Regions from separate parts of the Homo sapiens genome. Here region 2 is linked to region 1. Evidence: promoter capture Hi-C in 16 types of primary human blood cells and fetal thymus (Javierre and others, 2016). All regions are on one chromosome and are shown on one strand. The core of a region is centred on a gene start or on the middle of the fragment in contact, and the rest is flanking DNA. Distances in the headings are between cores, read along the strand shown. Region 1 holds the start of TOM1L1 (target of myb1 like 1 membrane trafficking protein). Region 2 has its middle 13 kb from the start of CA10.

Region 1 (7,829 bases), core at 1,582-4,081:
GAGCTACAACAGAATAAAAAATGTCTGGTATTCCTGAAATAATCTGCCTAGGCTGCACCAGCAAGTGTCATTAAGTTTACATTGCCAAAGGGCAAAGTGATTTTTTTTGGAACAGTTCTCAGTAATTCAGGAATCAATCAGAACCCAAGTTCAGAGTGCTGCTGCAGCAACAGTAATGAGTGACCTATTAATAAAGACCTCAAGCACAACAGCTGGCCACAGGCCCAGGCCAGGCCAGCTAAATCTCCGCCTGCCTGGCTTTCAGAGAAGGGAACTAGGGCTTAGTGAGCAGCTACCTAGAAGGTGAACTGCATAGTGCTAAGTATTTTATCATACGCAATTTCATTTAACCCACTGTGAGAGATGATGAGATAGAAGTTCAGAGAGGTTAGGAAATTACCAAAGTTATACAGTCAGTATGAAGTAGAATTGGCATTCAAATCTAGGTTGTTTGGTCCCACTGTTTGTTTTTAAAAATAATTTATTCTCTGGGGGGACAGGAGGAAAGAACTTTTAAAGGAGAGAAGTAATCCGTTGTTCTTAGGAGCCAAAACATTGGCACAACTCCAAATAAAAGTAATACGTTTATTGTCCTATCATCTTAATCTCACGATTCCTTCTAATTTTACCAATTATTATAACTTCAACCAATACTTGCAAAGACACTGCTTACCTCAACTATGTAAAAACTTCCATTGCATACACTTTTACTTTCAGCCTTAATTATTTCAAACTGGCGCTGGATAACTATCCGAACTAATAATAATAAGCATCTAAACTAACCACAGCTGCACCAGGCTGACCAGAATGCTTCTGCACTTGGAACCCTATGATTAGATAATCAGGCATCTTTCCCTCTCCAGACAGCCGCTTTAAGAATACAAGATGTTATCTGGAAAGGGTAATGGAACACTCAGTATGAATGCGCTAACATCTTCCTAAGAGAAGGACAAGATCCCTAAGCATGAAAACACCGGGTTCTGGGGGAAATGGAGAAAAAAACAAAAAAGATAGAGAAGGGGAAGAATAAGGACTTGCTTGGGGGAACCCCAAAGTTTAGCTTGCTTTCAATCCAGGAAAAGAACCACTTGAGGCGGGGCCCGGTGGCTCCCGCCTGTAATCCCAATCACTTTGGGAGGCCGAGGTGGGTAGATCACCTGAGGTCAGGAGGTCGAGACCAGCCTGGCCAGCATGGTGAAACTCCATCTCTACTAAAAATACAAAAATTAGCCTGGCGTGGTGGCATGTGCCTGTAGTCCCAGCTACTCGGGAGGCTGAGGAAGGAGAAGTGCTTGAACCCGGTAGGCGGAGGTTGCAGTGTGCCGAGAGCTACTGCACTCCAGCCTGGGTGTCACTCCCCGTCTCAAAACAAAAACAAAAACAAAAACAAAACAACAACAACAAAAAACTTGAATCTGGCACCGAATGGACAAAGCTTACCTCCCTAGAAAAGAAAACTCCTATTCACCCTTCAAAAGCCACGCAGAATTCATTTCTCCCTTCTCCTAAGTTTTGTGTGTTTTGCATTTTCTTGCATTGCAAAGGTGCCACACAAAACTGTGCCCGTCTTCTCTACAAGAAAGTGAGTTCCCTCAGGTTTGAGACCACGTCTCACCTTGGCCTCACCAGTGCCTGATCCAGGTCCAGGCACATAGCTGACAGTTAGTCCATGTTTACAGAATTAAAAAATTAAGCAGAAGAACTGCTGAAGTTTCGTTTGCCTATGAAGACACAGTCTGAATCCATTTCTGCTTGGGGTTCATTCTAATATCCAAAAAAGCACAGCCATTAAGGGAAAGCATCTCCTCAATGGTAGCTACTCTGACCATCTTATAAGGATGTGTAAACTAAGGTTCTGTTTAAGTGGTGTGTTCGGTGTCACAGCAGTTAGTAGAGCTGTGATCTAAATTTTCCAAATCTGGGCCTCTTTACTACAACTACTAGGTTCTCACGATTTCATCACCCCACTAAGTTCCTGACATCATCACACTTTGCCTGGCATTAATATGCACTCGTGCCACACCCAATTCCCAAGGGAGGAATCAGGGAAAAGAAGGAGCAGTGAGCTGGTGCTGGTAGGAGTCCAATCACTGGCTTCTACATACATCATGCAAGGTACATCCGGAGGAGAGAGAAATCATTTAGGTGGATGCTGGTGTAGTCCCTAGTGGCCTGCGAGAGACCTCCGTGGCCCCAGATGGCTCCTATGTTCCCCTCCTCTTCACTCCAATGCCAAGCATTTTCATTCTCTTTGTTTACCCAGAAAAGTAATCCAGGTTGTATAAGCTTGGCACTAGAGAAAACTGGTTTGGGGAGACCTGCCCCTCACAGTAAGGCCACATCACTTAGTCTCCCAGAGCCTCCTCTTCTGATCTGTAAAACGGGCATAACAATACCGTGCCCTGGAGAATGTGCCTTTAGGAATAACTTCCCCTACCGAGAAGTTTCTGGTGTCTCCTCGTGGAGGCCCAAACACTCCATGCCTGACTCCCGCGGTTCACCTGTTTGGTTCCACTCCCCAGGCGGCATCGAAAGGAAGGTACATTTTTGAGGACTGAGGTTCTACAGTGAGTTGGCCAAGAAGGAAACGACGAAAGGGGGCCGGGTGGAATGCGGGTGCCTTGGGAAAGTTGCGGGGGGAGGGGAATAATTTTTTCAAGTTGGACTAACTCCGTCCTCTGCAGGCCGAGAATGGATCAAGCAGGAAAGGATCCCACGGTCCCCTGCCTGCCTGGGCGTCTCTCCCCGCGCCTCCTTACCTATGAGGTGGCCCACGGAGGTCGCGTAGGGATCCCGGTGACTCTTGCCAAACGCCATGGTAGCGCCAGAGGGCCGGGCCCAGGAAATCCGCCTCCACCGCTCTCCGGCTCCCGACTCCACCCGCTCGGTACCCTTGGCTCCTCCTCTTCGCCCGAGCGCTTCCCGGGCTCTGGCAGAGGCGGTGCGTTCTGCGCTGCCGCTGCGGGGCGCGGGCACCGAGCGTGAGGAGCTGGGCGCGGGGCAGGGACGCGAGGGCGGGGCTTCGGGACGCCCAGCGCACCTGCAGCGCGCCCTGCGGGACCCGCGAGGAGGCTGCGCTGCCGGCTGCAGGTGGTACAGGCGGGTAGTGGCGGGTGTATGGAGCCTGCGAGAGTGGCGCGGCCGCCCGCTCGGATCCCAGGTGGGCTTTTCGCCCCGTGCAGGAGGAGCAGGCAGCCCAGAATCTCCAGCCTGGGAATTAGAGACCCAGGCTTTGATCCTGCCGCTTGCTGGGCACCTTGTCATTCTTCTCTGCGCCTCTTTGGCTGCCCTGGGTAGACCAAAGATAATAGGGGGTTAATAACACAAACCTCAGAATTATGAGAATTAAGGGAAGGACGTAACCGATTATGTCGGTGTCTGGTACCCACAAAATAAATAGTTAGCCACTGAATATACTGAATAACTAGAAATATTTACCCTCGACCTGCCTTTGTCCTAGAGATCCGGGAGGGGAGGTGTGCGCCCTGCCCTTTAAAGTTGTGGTCATGTCTAGGAGGAAGGATTGGCTTCGAATTTAGGGCTTCCCAGGAGCAGGCCCTCTTTGTCTCTCTACTATTTCCTCGAGGGACCACAGGGCGCCGCCTCGCAAGCTCTTGTTTTCTAACCCCACCTTCTGGGAGCCGTGTTTTCCAGCCTGATTCTAAAAACGGGAGAGGGGCTTTCCGTTTCTTCTGGCAAGGAGTATGCTTGGCTTTAGGCCTGCTTTGTAATGTAGGTTGGAATCTGAGAAGCCCAACACCTTTCCAGCTGCCCCTTCAGAACCAGAATTTATTTCCTATTCCTTTGCATTCAATTAACATCTGATTGGCGATGTTAACAATCTCCAGCCAGCAGGAGCCTGCCAGAGAGTGAGGTGTCCCCAGGCGATGTCAGATAGCCATAGATGAGCTCCTGGTGCTTGTAGATCCTGTTTCCTGTAGTCTAACTGCCACCCATTTCAAGTCTGTTTTTTAGCCCTGGAGATGGTGACTAGGGAGACGAAGGGGACCTGTTTTGACTTATGTCCGTGGTCTTGTGAATTTTAATATAGAGGTCAAAACCAATTGCCATGCACTCCAGGAGGCTAACATTTAATTATCTGTAACTCAATTATTTATAATTTTTCTTGACCAAAGTGAGCCAAAACCTGGGATTCTAAAATCTAGAATGAAATATTCTTGTTGTGATGATATGTCTCATAATGGGATTTGTCCCACGTGTAACTAATATTCTCCACCTGCCTATTCAGGGCGAGTAGCTATTTCAGATGTTGCCGTTTATCAACTTCCTTACTCATCACTATAGCCTCTGCTGACACTGTTGAAAACCTCTTTTGTGACATCACCAACCTAATCTGTATTCCATGCCTCTAGCAAAATATTTTGCCTTTTCTGCAACCTAGAATCAACCTACAATCTCTGAAAAAGAAAACCAATTTTAGCTTAGGCCAATGTTGGTGTCAGTGGCCTTCTATCAGTTAATGAGAACGAGAAAGGAACCGAGCATCCAGAGAGATAGATTTTTAACATACTTCTATGTGGGAGGTTTTTCTTTTCGTCTTCTTCTTCTTCTTTTTTTTTTTTTGTTTTTTTCTCCTATGTCTGATTTCCTTACATGACAGGACTGAGGCACCGAGAAAGAGGAGAAACAGTAGCAAGGAGTGTCTTCTGGACTTGATGCTTGGGTGAACAGAACCAAGGTTGATGAGTGCTACCTGTGTTCTATCTCAGCAATGCCTGGCAGAAGTTTTTCTCTCTCCCTGTGCCCTCCAGGGTGTTGTGGTGGTTGTTGCAGCCTTCTCTTCCTGTACTCTGTTCCGTTCTGCATGATCCCTCTTCTCTCCAGGCATGAAAATCAACGTGGTTAATGTTAGTAAAGTCTAGCAGCGGGGACAATAGAATTCACAGCTAAGTTGAGGTCAGAGAAGGAGCAGAATCCCACAGGGGTAAAATGACACCAGGAGTAAAATCTTACCACAATTTCAATTCCAAGAACACTTAGTCAACATTTATTTATGTAAAATGTGCTAAGTGTCTGCAACTAGAAATCTATCTTAATCTTCACAATCCTGAGAGGTGGGTAGTATTAACCTCATTTTTACAAATATATAATCTGAGATTCAGAAAGATCAAGTTTATAAATGGCTTCACTAAAGTTTGACTCATGGCTGCCTGGTTCCAAAGCCTATATTATTGTCACTAGGTGAATCTGTTTATTGAGCCTGATGTCTTGCTTTTTTAAAGGATCTGCTTGATTCAGTGCAAGACCTCTTGAAGAATACAGGAATAGGGGAAGTCATATACTTTGCTGGCACAAGGTCCTGCTTTTTTTCTGTTCTTGTTCAATAGCGAATATTTTTTGTGCTAGAACTATATGCCAGATATGTTCTAAACATATTACATGCGTTATCTCATTTAATCACATAATAACGTTATGAGACCAGTACGGTTATTACTTTATTTTTCATGTTAGAAAAACCAAAGTAATGGCTGGGCGCGGTGGCTCACACCTGTAATCCTAGCACTTTGGGAGGCCGAGGCAGGCATATCACCTGACGTCAGGAGTTCAAGACCAGCCTGGCCAACATGGTGAAACCCTGTCTTTACTAAAAATACAAAAATTAGCTGGGCATGGTGGCAGGTGACTGTAATTCCAGCTACACGGGAGGCTGAGGCAGGAGAATCGCTTGAACCCGAGAGGCGGAGACTGCAGTGAGACGAGGTCACGCCACTGCTCTCCAGCCTGGGCAACAGAGTGACTCCATCTCAAGAAAAAAAGGGGGGGGAAATAAGTCAATAATTTTTCACATAGTCACATTGCTAGGGAAGGACTGTCTAATTCCAGAACCTGTGACTTGAATGGCTGTGCTATGTCATCCCTCTTGGATAGAGCTCTAGATGGTAGGTGGTGCCCTTCACTAGTTCACATTTTGAAAGAAGTGGGTTCTAGGGGGCAGTGTCTGTAGAAAGAAGTGACCGAACTTGGCAAGTACACCTGTATAGAAAACAAAGATAACCCACCATCATGATTCATGCAGCTAAGAGATTTTTGCCTTCTCATTTGATTGTTTTTTTGTGTGTTGTGTGTTTGTGTTTTTTTTTTTGTTTTTTTTGTTTTTTTTTTTTTGAGATGGGGTTTCACTCTTCTTGCCCAGGCTGGATGCAATGGCACAATCTCAGCTCACCACAACCTTTGCCTCCAGGTTCAAGCGATTCTCCTGCCTCAGCCTCCCTAGTAGCTGGGATTACAGGCATGTGCCACCACGTTTGGCTAATTTTGTATTTTTAGTAGAGACGGTGTTTCTCCATGTTGGTCAGTTTGGTCTCGAACTCCTGACCTCACGTGATCCACCCGCCTCAGCCTCCCAAAGTGCTGGGATTACAGGTGTGAGCCACCACGCCGGGCTTGTTCCTTGTTTTAATATTTAAATGTGCTCCCTATAACCCTCCCCATAGTGTATCCACTAGCCTTCTCATTATCCTTCTCTTTTTCCGTGGGTCTAGTTCCAAACACTACCTACTCTCTCCCCCAACTCTCCCACTATAAAAACTAACTTTCATAGCTATGTGATCTTCAGCTTTAATAGTCATCCTCATCCTCTTTGACCCTCTGCACCACCCATGTGATGGCCCTTCCTTGTTAGCCAGCCTTATCTTTCAGGACACTTCTCTATCCTACTTTTTTTTTTTTCTCTCTCTCTCTCTCTGACTGCTAATTCTCAATGATCTTCATTTGATTTTATTTTCTTTCCATTCTGCTAGACCTAAGTAAGTCTTCCCACACTTCCGAGGTTCGCCTTTTTCTCTTTCTGCATTTCTCTCATCCCACCTTCTCCTTGTCCCTTCTTTATGAAGTCTTTTCTGACAACTCCCAGAAGAATTTAACTCTTCTTTTCTGTCCCAGGTACAGATTTCTGTCTTATAGTCCACAACATATTATATCACTGATTTGTTTAGAAATCTGTTCCCTGCCTCCTAGATATAGGCCCCACAAAGAAAAAGGACCCATTTGTAGGACTTGGTGTCCTGACACTCAATAGACCTTAAGGGATTTTTTTTTTTTTTTCTGAGATGGCGTTTCACTTTATCACCCAGGCTGGAGTGCAGTAGTGCAATCTCAGCTCACTGCAACCTCTGCCTCCCAGGTTCAAGCGATTCTCCTGCCTCAGCCTCCCAAGTACCTGGGATTACAGGCACACGCCACCATGCCTGGCTAATTTTTGTCTTTTTATTAGAGACAGGGTTTCACCATGTTGGCCAGGCTGGTCTCAAACTCCTGACCTCAAGTGATCCACCCACCTTGGCCCCCCAAAGTGCTGGGATTACAGGCATGAGCCACCATGCCCAGCCTAAGGGATGTTTATTGAATATATTAATGAATGACTCCTCAAAATCTTAAGTTGCTGTGTCCTTCCTGAGGTCCAGCCCTTAATTCCCTCCTGGATGCCTTGTTGAAACTTGAACTCAGTATGTCTAGAATTATACTCATCCTCTTTCTCCATTATCTCAATATCCTACCTTACTTACTTGTTTTGACCATAGCAGTCATTCTCAACCATATGCATAGAAATTTCTGGGTTGCTGTAAAGACTAATGATATCTGGGTCCCACCTCAGAGATTCTGATTTAACTAGTCTTGGATGCCTCAAGGTCATCAAGAATTTTAAAGGTCCCTGGATGGGCTAAAGGTACCATAAATTCCCAAACAGAAAATCTTGAAGTTATCCTCAACTTTCATTTCAGTCAGTTCTGGATTTCTCTATGTTCTTCTTTACCTCTCTCCTTGCTTTTTCTTCTCTATGGACACTGTCCAGTCCAGAAATTGTCGAT
Region 2 (7,829 bases), core at 3,778-6,277, 2.7 Mb after region 1:
TGCAGTGAGCCAAGATCACGCCATTGAACTCCAGCCTAGGGGACAAGAGTGTGAGACTTGTCTTTAAAAAAAAAAAAGAAAGAAAGAAAGAAAGAAAGAAAGAAAGAAAGAAAGAAAGAAAGAAAGAAAGAAATGGCTTTAATAGCCATAAATAACCAAAAATAGAATGGACATCAATGTGAAATCAAGGGTCTACAATTATTGAAGATGTCCAAGTATAACCTGGACAACCGTTGATAAGCACGGCTGTAGAAAGTAGTTTAACACAAAAATAGACAGCTGCAGGAAGTGGTCTGATTTGTCTGTTCCAGTCCCAAGGTGCTCTGATACAAAGATTTTACTCACATTATCATTATTCAGAGCATTTATGAAATACTTTCTTAGAAGCTGCTTTCAAAGTCTGTGGCTCATTCTTTAGAATATACTTATTACTGACAAATTCAAGATTGCTGAAGAAAGTGAGTGATAAGGCTTGTTGATAATACTTTTTTATACTTAAAAAAATCACTGTGACTGTTATATGGCTACTTCATTTTAACATGACTTTTAAAATTCATTTTTCAAATAGGAATTCCCATATTATTTTGAGAAATGATAAAATTGGAAAAATCCTTTTCTGAAGTTCCTCCTTTGAAGAGCGAAATTATTTCAACTTGCAAATTTTGATTTGCATGAATAAAAAAGAAACATGCTGAAATCATCAAATTAAATTACAATTTCATCTCTTGCATAACATTCATAAGTTCCCTAACATATGCAAAGTGATTAAACTAAATATCTCATTTTAACGCTTTCATAACAATAAACATCATTAGTGTCTCTATTTTGCTGATAGGTAATTGAAGATAAGACATATTGAATTACTTAGTTCATAGTTAATTGAGTGCAGACCAGGTCTCAAACCTTGATTCTAGTTAGTGGTCATATTATTCACCTCACCCTGATCACTTTGTTCTAGAATGAAGACCTTAATCAATGCTGCAAAATTCCAGGCCCCACCAAAGGTACATGGAAAAAATAACTCTGGGAAGTCTACTTTTTATTTTTTCTTAGGCTATGCTGTATAGGAAGTTTTCTATTCAACCTCCTTGTTGGAATGTTCCAGCTATAAAGCACAATAAAAATGTCAAAAATTATTCTCTCTTGTAATGTGGGCCTTTTCTTGCCAGCGTGTAGAAAGCAATGATGGGTTTTCAGTACACTTGATAAATTGTCACACCCTAGTTATTTTGTTTTCCAAAATCTATTTACATTCCATAGCTTTATGTTAAGCTGGGGTTACTAACTCACACATTTATTCTGAACTTAATTGAATTTTTATTACTCATGATGAAATTGGTGTTTTGCATTTTGCACAATATTTCTCTGCTGTGGACTTTCATAAGGTACAATTATACAAGAATCAGAGCCTGGAGCAATTAATTATTAATGAATGGAATAAAGACATTAATGTTTATTTGAAACAAATGAGAGGCTACATTTGCATCCCTCAATTGTCACAGCAGACCCTGGATTTCGATGCCCTTTCCTTGCCTTAATCAGTAAATTCCAGTCCCAGGATTATAATAGCTACATTATCTAATACTAAGATACTATCTGAAATAGGCCTTTGTATATGTATATGTATGTATGTATATAGATAGATATGCATATGAATATATATACATATAAATACGAATTCACACATATATGTACAAGCATACACATGTACACTCATATACACATAAGCACACATGTATAAAGTGTTTCGCACTGATTTTTTTCATCAGATCCACCACTGAGTAACTCTGTAAGGTAAGGAGACTCAGTATTACTCTCTTTGTTCCAAAGATGAGGAAAATAAACCTGGAGATTTTAAGTGACTTACCCAGTAACACACAGCCAATAAGTGGCAAGGCCAAGACCCAAGTCCTTATCTCACTGATTCCAAAGTCCACAAACACTAGATGCTCAGGGGCTGACAATAATGACTCCCACTAGGGATTTTAGGGTTTATTCTGTACTAGGTACTTTGCATGTAATATCTCATTCATTCTGCTAAACAGCCATGGGTTAGATAGTAATTCACCTATTACAAAGTCAAAAAACAAAGCAACAACAACCAAGACGGAGGCTGGAAAAGGTTAAGTAACTTTCCCAGATAACTTCTAAATTGCAGAGCAGTGACATCAACCCATGTCTTTTGATTCCTATTACAGTTCTTGGAAACTCATCTCTCTGGTGTTTCTCCTCTCTGATAAGAACAAGAAGAAAGACTTGTTAAGTGAATGCCAAATAAATATTTGCTTTACACAGAAATGTCTGCTTGAATAATAATCTATTCCATTTTACTTTACCTTCCCTAAACCCCATTCCCATCCAGATAATCAAAGATCATGGTGCCATATTGGTGAGTGGGGAAGGGATATAGAATAAGATGCATGAGAACCATGACTTGGTATACATTAAACATCTGGTAAATAATGTCTTTTTAAATTCCTGATTGGTATGTTTCATAAACCACACATTACATTTTCCAATTACAATTCCATATAGAATTAGATGAATTAATAATTATTATCTATGATGTGTTAAATGTTTCTTATTTATACTGTTCCATTTCATTGTCTCAATCTATATAAAATATGTTTTTATTCTGTTTTTGCAAAAGAAATTGTGGCTCAAGCACTTAAGTGTCTTTTAAAATCCCATAGGTAGAGAATGGCAGACTTCAGATTCAAACATCAGCCTTCTGATTCAGGGTGCAGTGCCTCTTTATCCACTGTATTCTCCACAGTGCCTGAGGCTGGCACATCTTTAAGTTCAAGGCAACTCATTTCTTTCAACAAAATTTGCCCAAATACATGGTTGATATTGGGCATTCCTCTTCTGGGTTCCTATAATGGTTTCTGAAACTGCAGATCGGCAGCAATGCTTCTGTAACTCAGATGACCTCAGGGTCAAGTTTCTGAATCAGAAAACATATTTTTTTAAATTTTATCATTAACATTGTCTTCTGGTAGGTTCTAGGGACATGGAAGTGAGGCAACATCCTTGGTGTGATCAGCTATTTGGGGGCTAGTCCCCACTGTGATTGTAAGGAAGGCTCAGCCATTTACTGTGATGACAGCAAGCCAAAGCTGTGGAATGACAAATTTGAAGGTAGAAAAGAGGCTGTGGGGTAGGCTGCTTAGTTTCATAAGGTAGCAAGAGCTTAGCTCAAAAGCAGATTTTTGGAAAGCCAAATACATATGAAATTGTGGGTTAGATATCAGAACTGCTATTGAATGAGAGAGAAGTGCACTGGTTCAATATCAAGCACAGTGAAAAGCTTCTGAGGAGCAAAACTTCATCCTGAAAACCCTGCACTATAACAGCCGATGTAGCTCTACAACATTAGAGGCTAATTTTTCTGTCACTCAAGTCTTGTCTTGGTCGGAATTAATGGGTGTGACAGTTATTAACCTATAATCTTTTTTTTTTTTTGAGAAGGAGTTTCATTCTTGTTTCCCAGGCTGGAGTGCAGTGGCATGATCTCAGCTCACTGCAACCCCCACCTCCCAGGTTCAAGCGATTCTCCTGCCTCAGCCCCCACAAGTAACTGGGATTACAGGTGCACACCACGATGCCCACCTAATTTTTTTGTATTTTTAGTAAAGACGGGGTTTCACCATGTTGGCCAGGCTGATCTTGAACTCCTGACCTCAGGTGATCTGCCCGCCTCGGCCTCCCAAAGTGCTGGGATCACAGGTGTGAGCCACCACACCAGGCCTAACCTCTTTTCATTCCCAGTCCCTCCATACTCTGTGATGCTATTGCTGGATCTCCACCAAGCACATTTCTCTTTTGTCAATTTGCTCCCTATTAGGTTTTTGCCAACAGGGAGTGCTAGAGGGAGCCTAGAAAACAAGAGGTGCAAAGAAAGGACTTGATTCATTCAGTTTTCCATACTGGTTTTGCAATTATCTCCCAGCAACAGCTCTTCACTTCAGCAAGCAGTTGCTTCCACTTTCCAGTTTCTTCCAAAAGTCTCAGAACCAGCTTCCACTAGGTTTCAGTGTCAGCTGAGAGGGAGGCTGTACTCAGAGGTCTGAGTTACAGCTCCTCCTCTGAGCTCTAAGATGCCAGTCCAATGGGATGCACCCTCTCTTGCGAGGTACAGTTCCTAGATCATCAGGGACCCCTCCTCCAGGCTTCTTGGTTCTGATCATCCTAATCTGTTTATGTTGTCTCCCTGGTTATAATGGTGGTAGCTGTTTCCTAGAGTTATTCTCTCTGCATTAACTTGGTGTTTCATGGTGGCTTTTTAGTCCTCCAATGCCTGTTCAACCAATTCTCTACTTTAAATTCTCTCTGAAAAATAACTTGTTGTTTGTGTTCCTGTTCAACCAATTCTCTACTTTAAATTCTCTCTGAAAAATAACTTGTTTGTGTTCCTGGAAGGGCTCTGCTTGGTTTTTTGGATCTGCATTATCTAGTTTGGGTTTCCACCAGAGTAGCCCGAAATGTCTTCCCCTCAGTGTGAATGGTTAGATTGAGATTCTTAAGTTCCCTTACCCCTAGGTACCTTTATTTTAAATTTGGCCATTGCTTTTCCATATGGACAAAGCATCTCCAGCCTGACTCAAGGTTGCACCCTGCTGGTTGCAAATAGACAGCTGGTAGACAGGAGGTGAAAAGAGGCTATCCTGATAGAGCTCAGCTGCCAAACTGTTTGGATAAAATCAGTCCCTGAACCAATAGAGACTCTATTCCTTATACCAATGACCCTTATTCAAACTTTTTACCATTTGATTTTGTGACACTTTCATCCCCTATACCTCATTTGTAAATTTATTTTTTATTTTTATTTTATTTTATTTTAGAGACAGGGTCTTGCTGTGTCACCCAGGCTGGAGTGTAGTGATACAATCAGCTCGCTGTGATCTCAAACTCCTGGGCTCAAGCAACCCCCCCACCTCAGCCTCTTGAGTAGCTGGAACACAGTTACATACCATGGTACCTGGCTAATTTTTTTATTTTCATTTTTGTAGAAATGAGGTCTCACTATGTTGCCCAGGCTGGTCTTGAACTCCTGGTCTCAAGTGATCCTCCCCCATCAGCCTCTTGAAACTCTGGGATTGCAGGCATCAGCCACTATGCCCAGGCCCCCTACACCTCCTTAAGAGCCGTTGTAATTAGAGTATATTAAAATCAATTTTTCTTTGAAAATCTTATAAAACGTCTAATGGTAAATGAGAAGAATTTTAGAGTAGCGCCCACTTTCTACTTGATAGAAAGCCCTATTATTTATCTTTGTTTATTGAGAACTTTCCAACAAGCTAACTCAAGTGATTATTGGTTGAGCTGAATCCAATAACTCAAACATTATTATGGCAACATCTCCAAAATTACTACCATCTTCATCTGAAATGTACTTATGCAAGAGGAGAAAATAGAGCTTATTCTGCTCATTTTATTTCCAGCAAAAATTGACTGAAGTATAAAGGGCAGGTTGCCAGTCTGTTTCCCATTTCATGGGAAGGAAAATGAGAAACAGCCACCAGAAATTGCTATTTTATCATAAGAAAAGTTGGGCGAACACAGATGAAAACAATATAAGTTTTTACTTTAATAGTTGATCATTTAAAATATATTTAAGATTTCATTCACATTCATTTAAAAATCTATTTTCCTAAAGAAATAATAATTTATGGAACATGAAAATGGAATATCATCTTATATGTAATATTAACTCATACAAGTCTCAAAAGATTCATTAAGGAAAGCATTTGAACTAATGAGATAAGAACCATTACTTAGTCATATGTTTATGTGACATTTACAACAACCTTGATATTTTTCAATACCTGACAATGGCATGTTTATATTTTTGTAGGAAAAACTCTACTCTTTCAACCTTTGATCTCAATTGTTGTTAACTCCATCATAAAATTATGGCTACTCACAATATCTCCTGTCCTGCTGGGCAGGAGGCTCTTTTTGTTTTCGTTAGTTTTCTTCTCTATCTAGTAGCAATCAGAGAACGGATTCAGAAATTTGAGGGTTTTCTGCTATGGTAACTCAACTCTTACTTTATTACATCCACACAATAGAACCAATGAGAAAAAAAAATCTGTTGTTGAAGCTGGATACAATTCAGGAAATCTCATTTGCAGGAGAAGAAAATTAACTAGATCTCTGTAGCAGGGTCTTATCTTCTGTGTTGATTTGGAAATGGAATTCCTTTCAGAGCCCTCCAGTTGCAGTATTCCTCCCTTGCTGAACTTCCTCAATGCTCTGAATAAGTGGCATGTTATTTCACCAAGGATTTGATGTTTAATACTGTTAAGGTGTGTGTTTGTGGTGGTTGGGTGGGGCTGGGAGGATCTCTTTCCCCAAAAGTAGGCTGCAATGCTGGTGAGTGCATACCCAGGACTGAACCTGTGGTCAAAGAATGGCCCTTTAAGGAGATGTGTGTAAAAGCATGGTCTTAAGGCACTTGATCCTGAGATATCTCATACAAACATGAAAGACCCTACATGAATCACTTGACCATGGAAGCAGTGGCCAGGAGCAGAAAGAGAAGGGGAAGGGGCCATGGGCTTGGGGGAGGGAAGACTCTTGTCCCATACCTCTGACTTTTCATAGTGGATATGTCTGCCACACCCATTATTTGTTAATTTTCCTAATAAATAAATGAGACATATAACTCTATAATCTAGCATGTAGACATTGCTGAGTAGAGAACTACAAAGAGTCTTTCAAGTGCAAAATGAAGCTTAAAACTTGTAATTTTAATGCTAATCATTGGGAAGACAATGTAAAAAAATAATCTCAGCAAATAGTTTTAAAACCTAATGTGTCAGTTGCTAACTCCAAAATTATGCAAGCTGTAGTGAAAGCAGACTGTTGTGCTAATTTAAGCCTTTCTTTATACCTAAGAACCATTATGAAACTAAAATATTCTATACTGATCTATAACTGCTACCCGATAGGGCAGTTGGCTCACAGAGAAGAGCGAAGCATTCCTGTTGGTATAAAACTTCACTGGAAATTGCTTAATGTAAAATAAACACACACCACCCCATCACACCCGCACACATACACACACACAAATGGTCAGGTAGAGTTGAAAGTGCATTGGACAGAAAGAGACAATCTAAGAAAAATGTCTCCCACTAAAATGCCTGGTTTTGGCTAATACATTTGCCATCTATGTTTCAGCTGTTGCACTGTGTTACTTGGTCACAAAAGAAATAATGATGGGAATGGAAGGTTTATAAAAACTAATAATTAACTAGGAAGGCTGAAATTCTGGCCCTGCCCCTGCTTTTGCCTTTGTTGAACTCGGACACATCACTTGACCTAATCTTAAGCCTCCATCTTCCCACATAAAAAATAAGGGGGTTGGACTACATTAGGACTGAAAGTATATTAATGTGCACTTACAATGTATTAGGAAACATTTATCATCAAATTCATTACAAAAAATGGAAGAAAAGTGGATTTATTTGAATAAACAAATAAACAAACCTATTCAATTTTTCAGCAATCTTTTACAGAATGCCTGCTATGTACTCATTGCAAATAAGTCTTCCATTTTTAAGATCTTGAGTTAAGGAGACTGGATATATGAGAGAAATTCAATAAAAAGGAGAAAAGTGTAACATGAGTTTCACTAACTTTCAAAATGATGCCCAAAGCCTTAGCCCAAGTGCCACAATCTTAATGTGAACTATTTCATCAAATTCTTTATCCATCTGCCAAAATATAAATAGTAAATAAGGTATAGCATTTTAATTCTTTGACGTTGGACACAAATTATAGTATGGGTGAGAAGAAAGCCTATTTTGAAAATATAATGAGCA

What was found. Contacts are between HindIII fragments. The CHiCAGO score rates a contact against its expected background, and 5 or more counts as called.
Region 2: a fragment that was not itself captured here is called in contact with the fragment with the promoter of TOM1L1 in region 1 in 1 of 17 cell types (endothelial precursors); the score reaches 5.3 in endothelial precursors.

Annotation. Positions count from the first base shown.
Region 1 is chr17:54,895,854-54,903,682 of GRCh38, reverse strand. TOM1L1 (target of myb1 like 1 membrane trafficking protein) reads right to left here and starts at 2,831. Exons shown (of 16, transcript NM_005486.3): 1 at 2,760-2,831. The coding sequence starts at 2,817. It overlaps LOC124904033 (a long non-coding RNA gene), which reads left to right and starts at 2,946. Exons shown (of 2, transcript XR_007065854.1): 1 at 2,946-5,075. RefSeq lists enhancers at 2,517-2,606, 2,627-2,736 and a silencer at 2,817-3,156. The HindIII fragment of the contact is 6,286 bases long and covers 2,289-7,829 here.
Region 2 is chr17:52,167,946-52,175,774 of GRCh38, reverse strand. No RefSeq gene overlaps it. Among named protein-coding and RNA genes, the nearest start is that of CA10, 13 kb to the right of the region's middle. The HindIII fragment of the contact is 3,429 bases long and covers 3,313-6,741 here.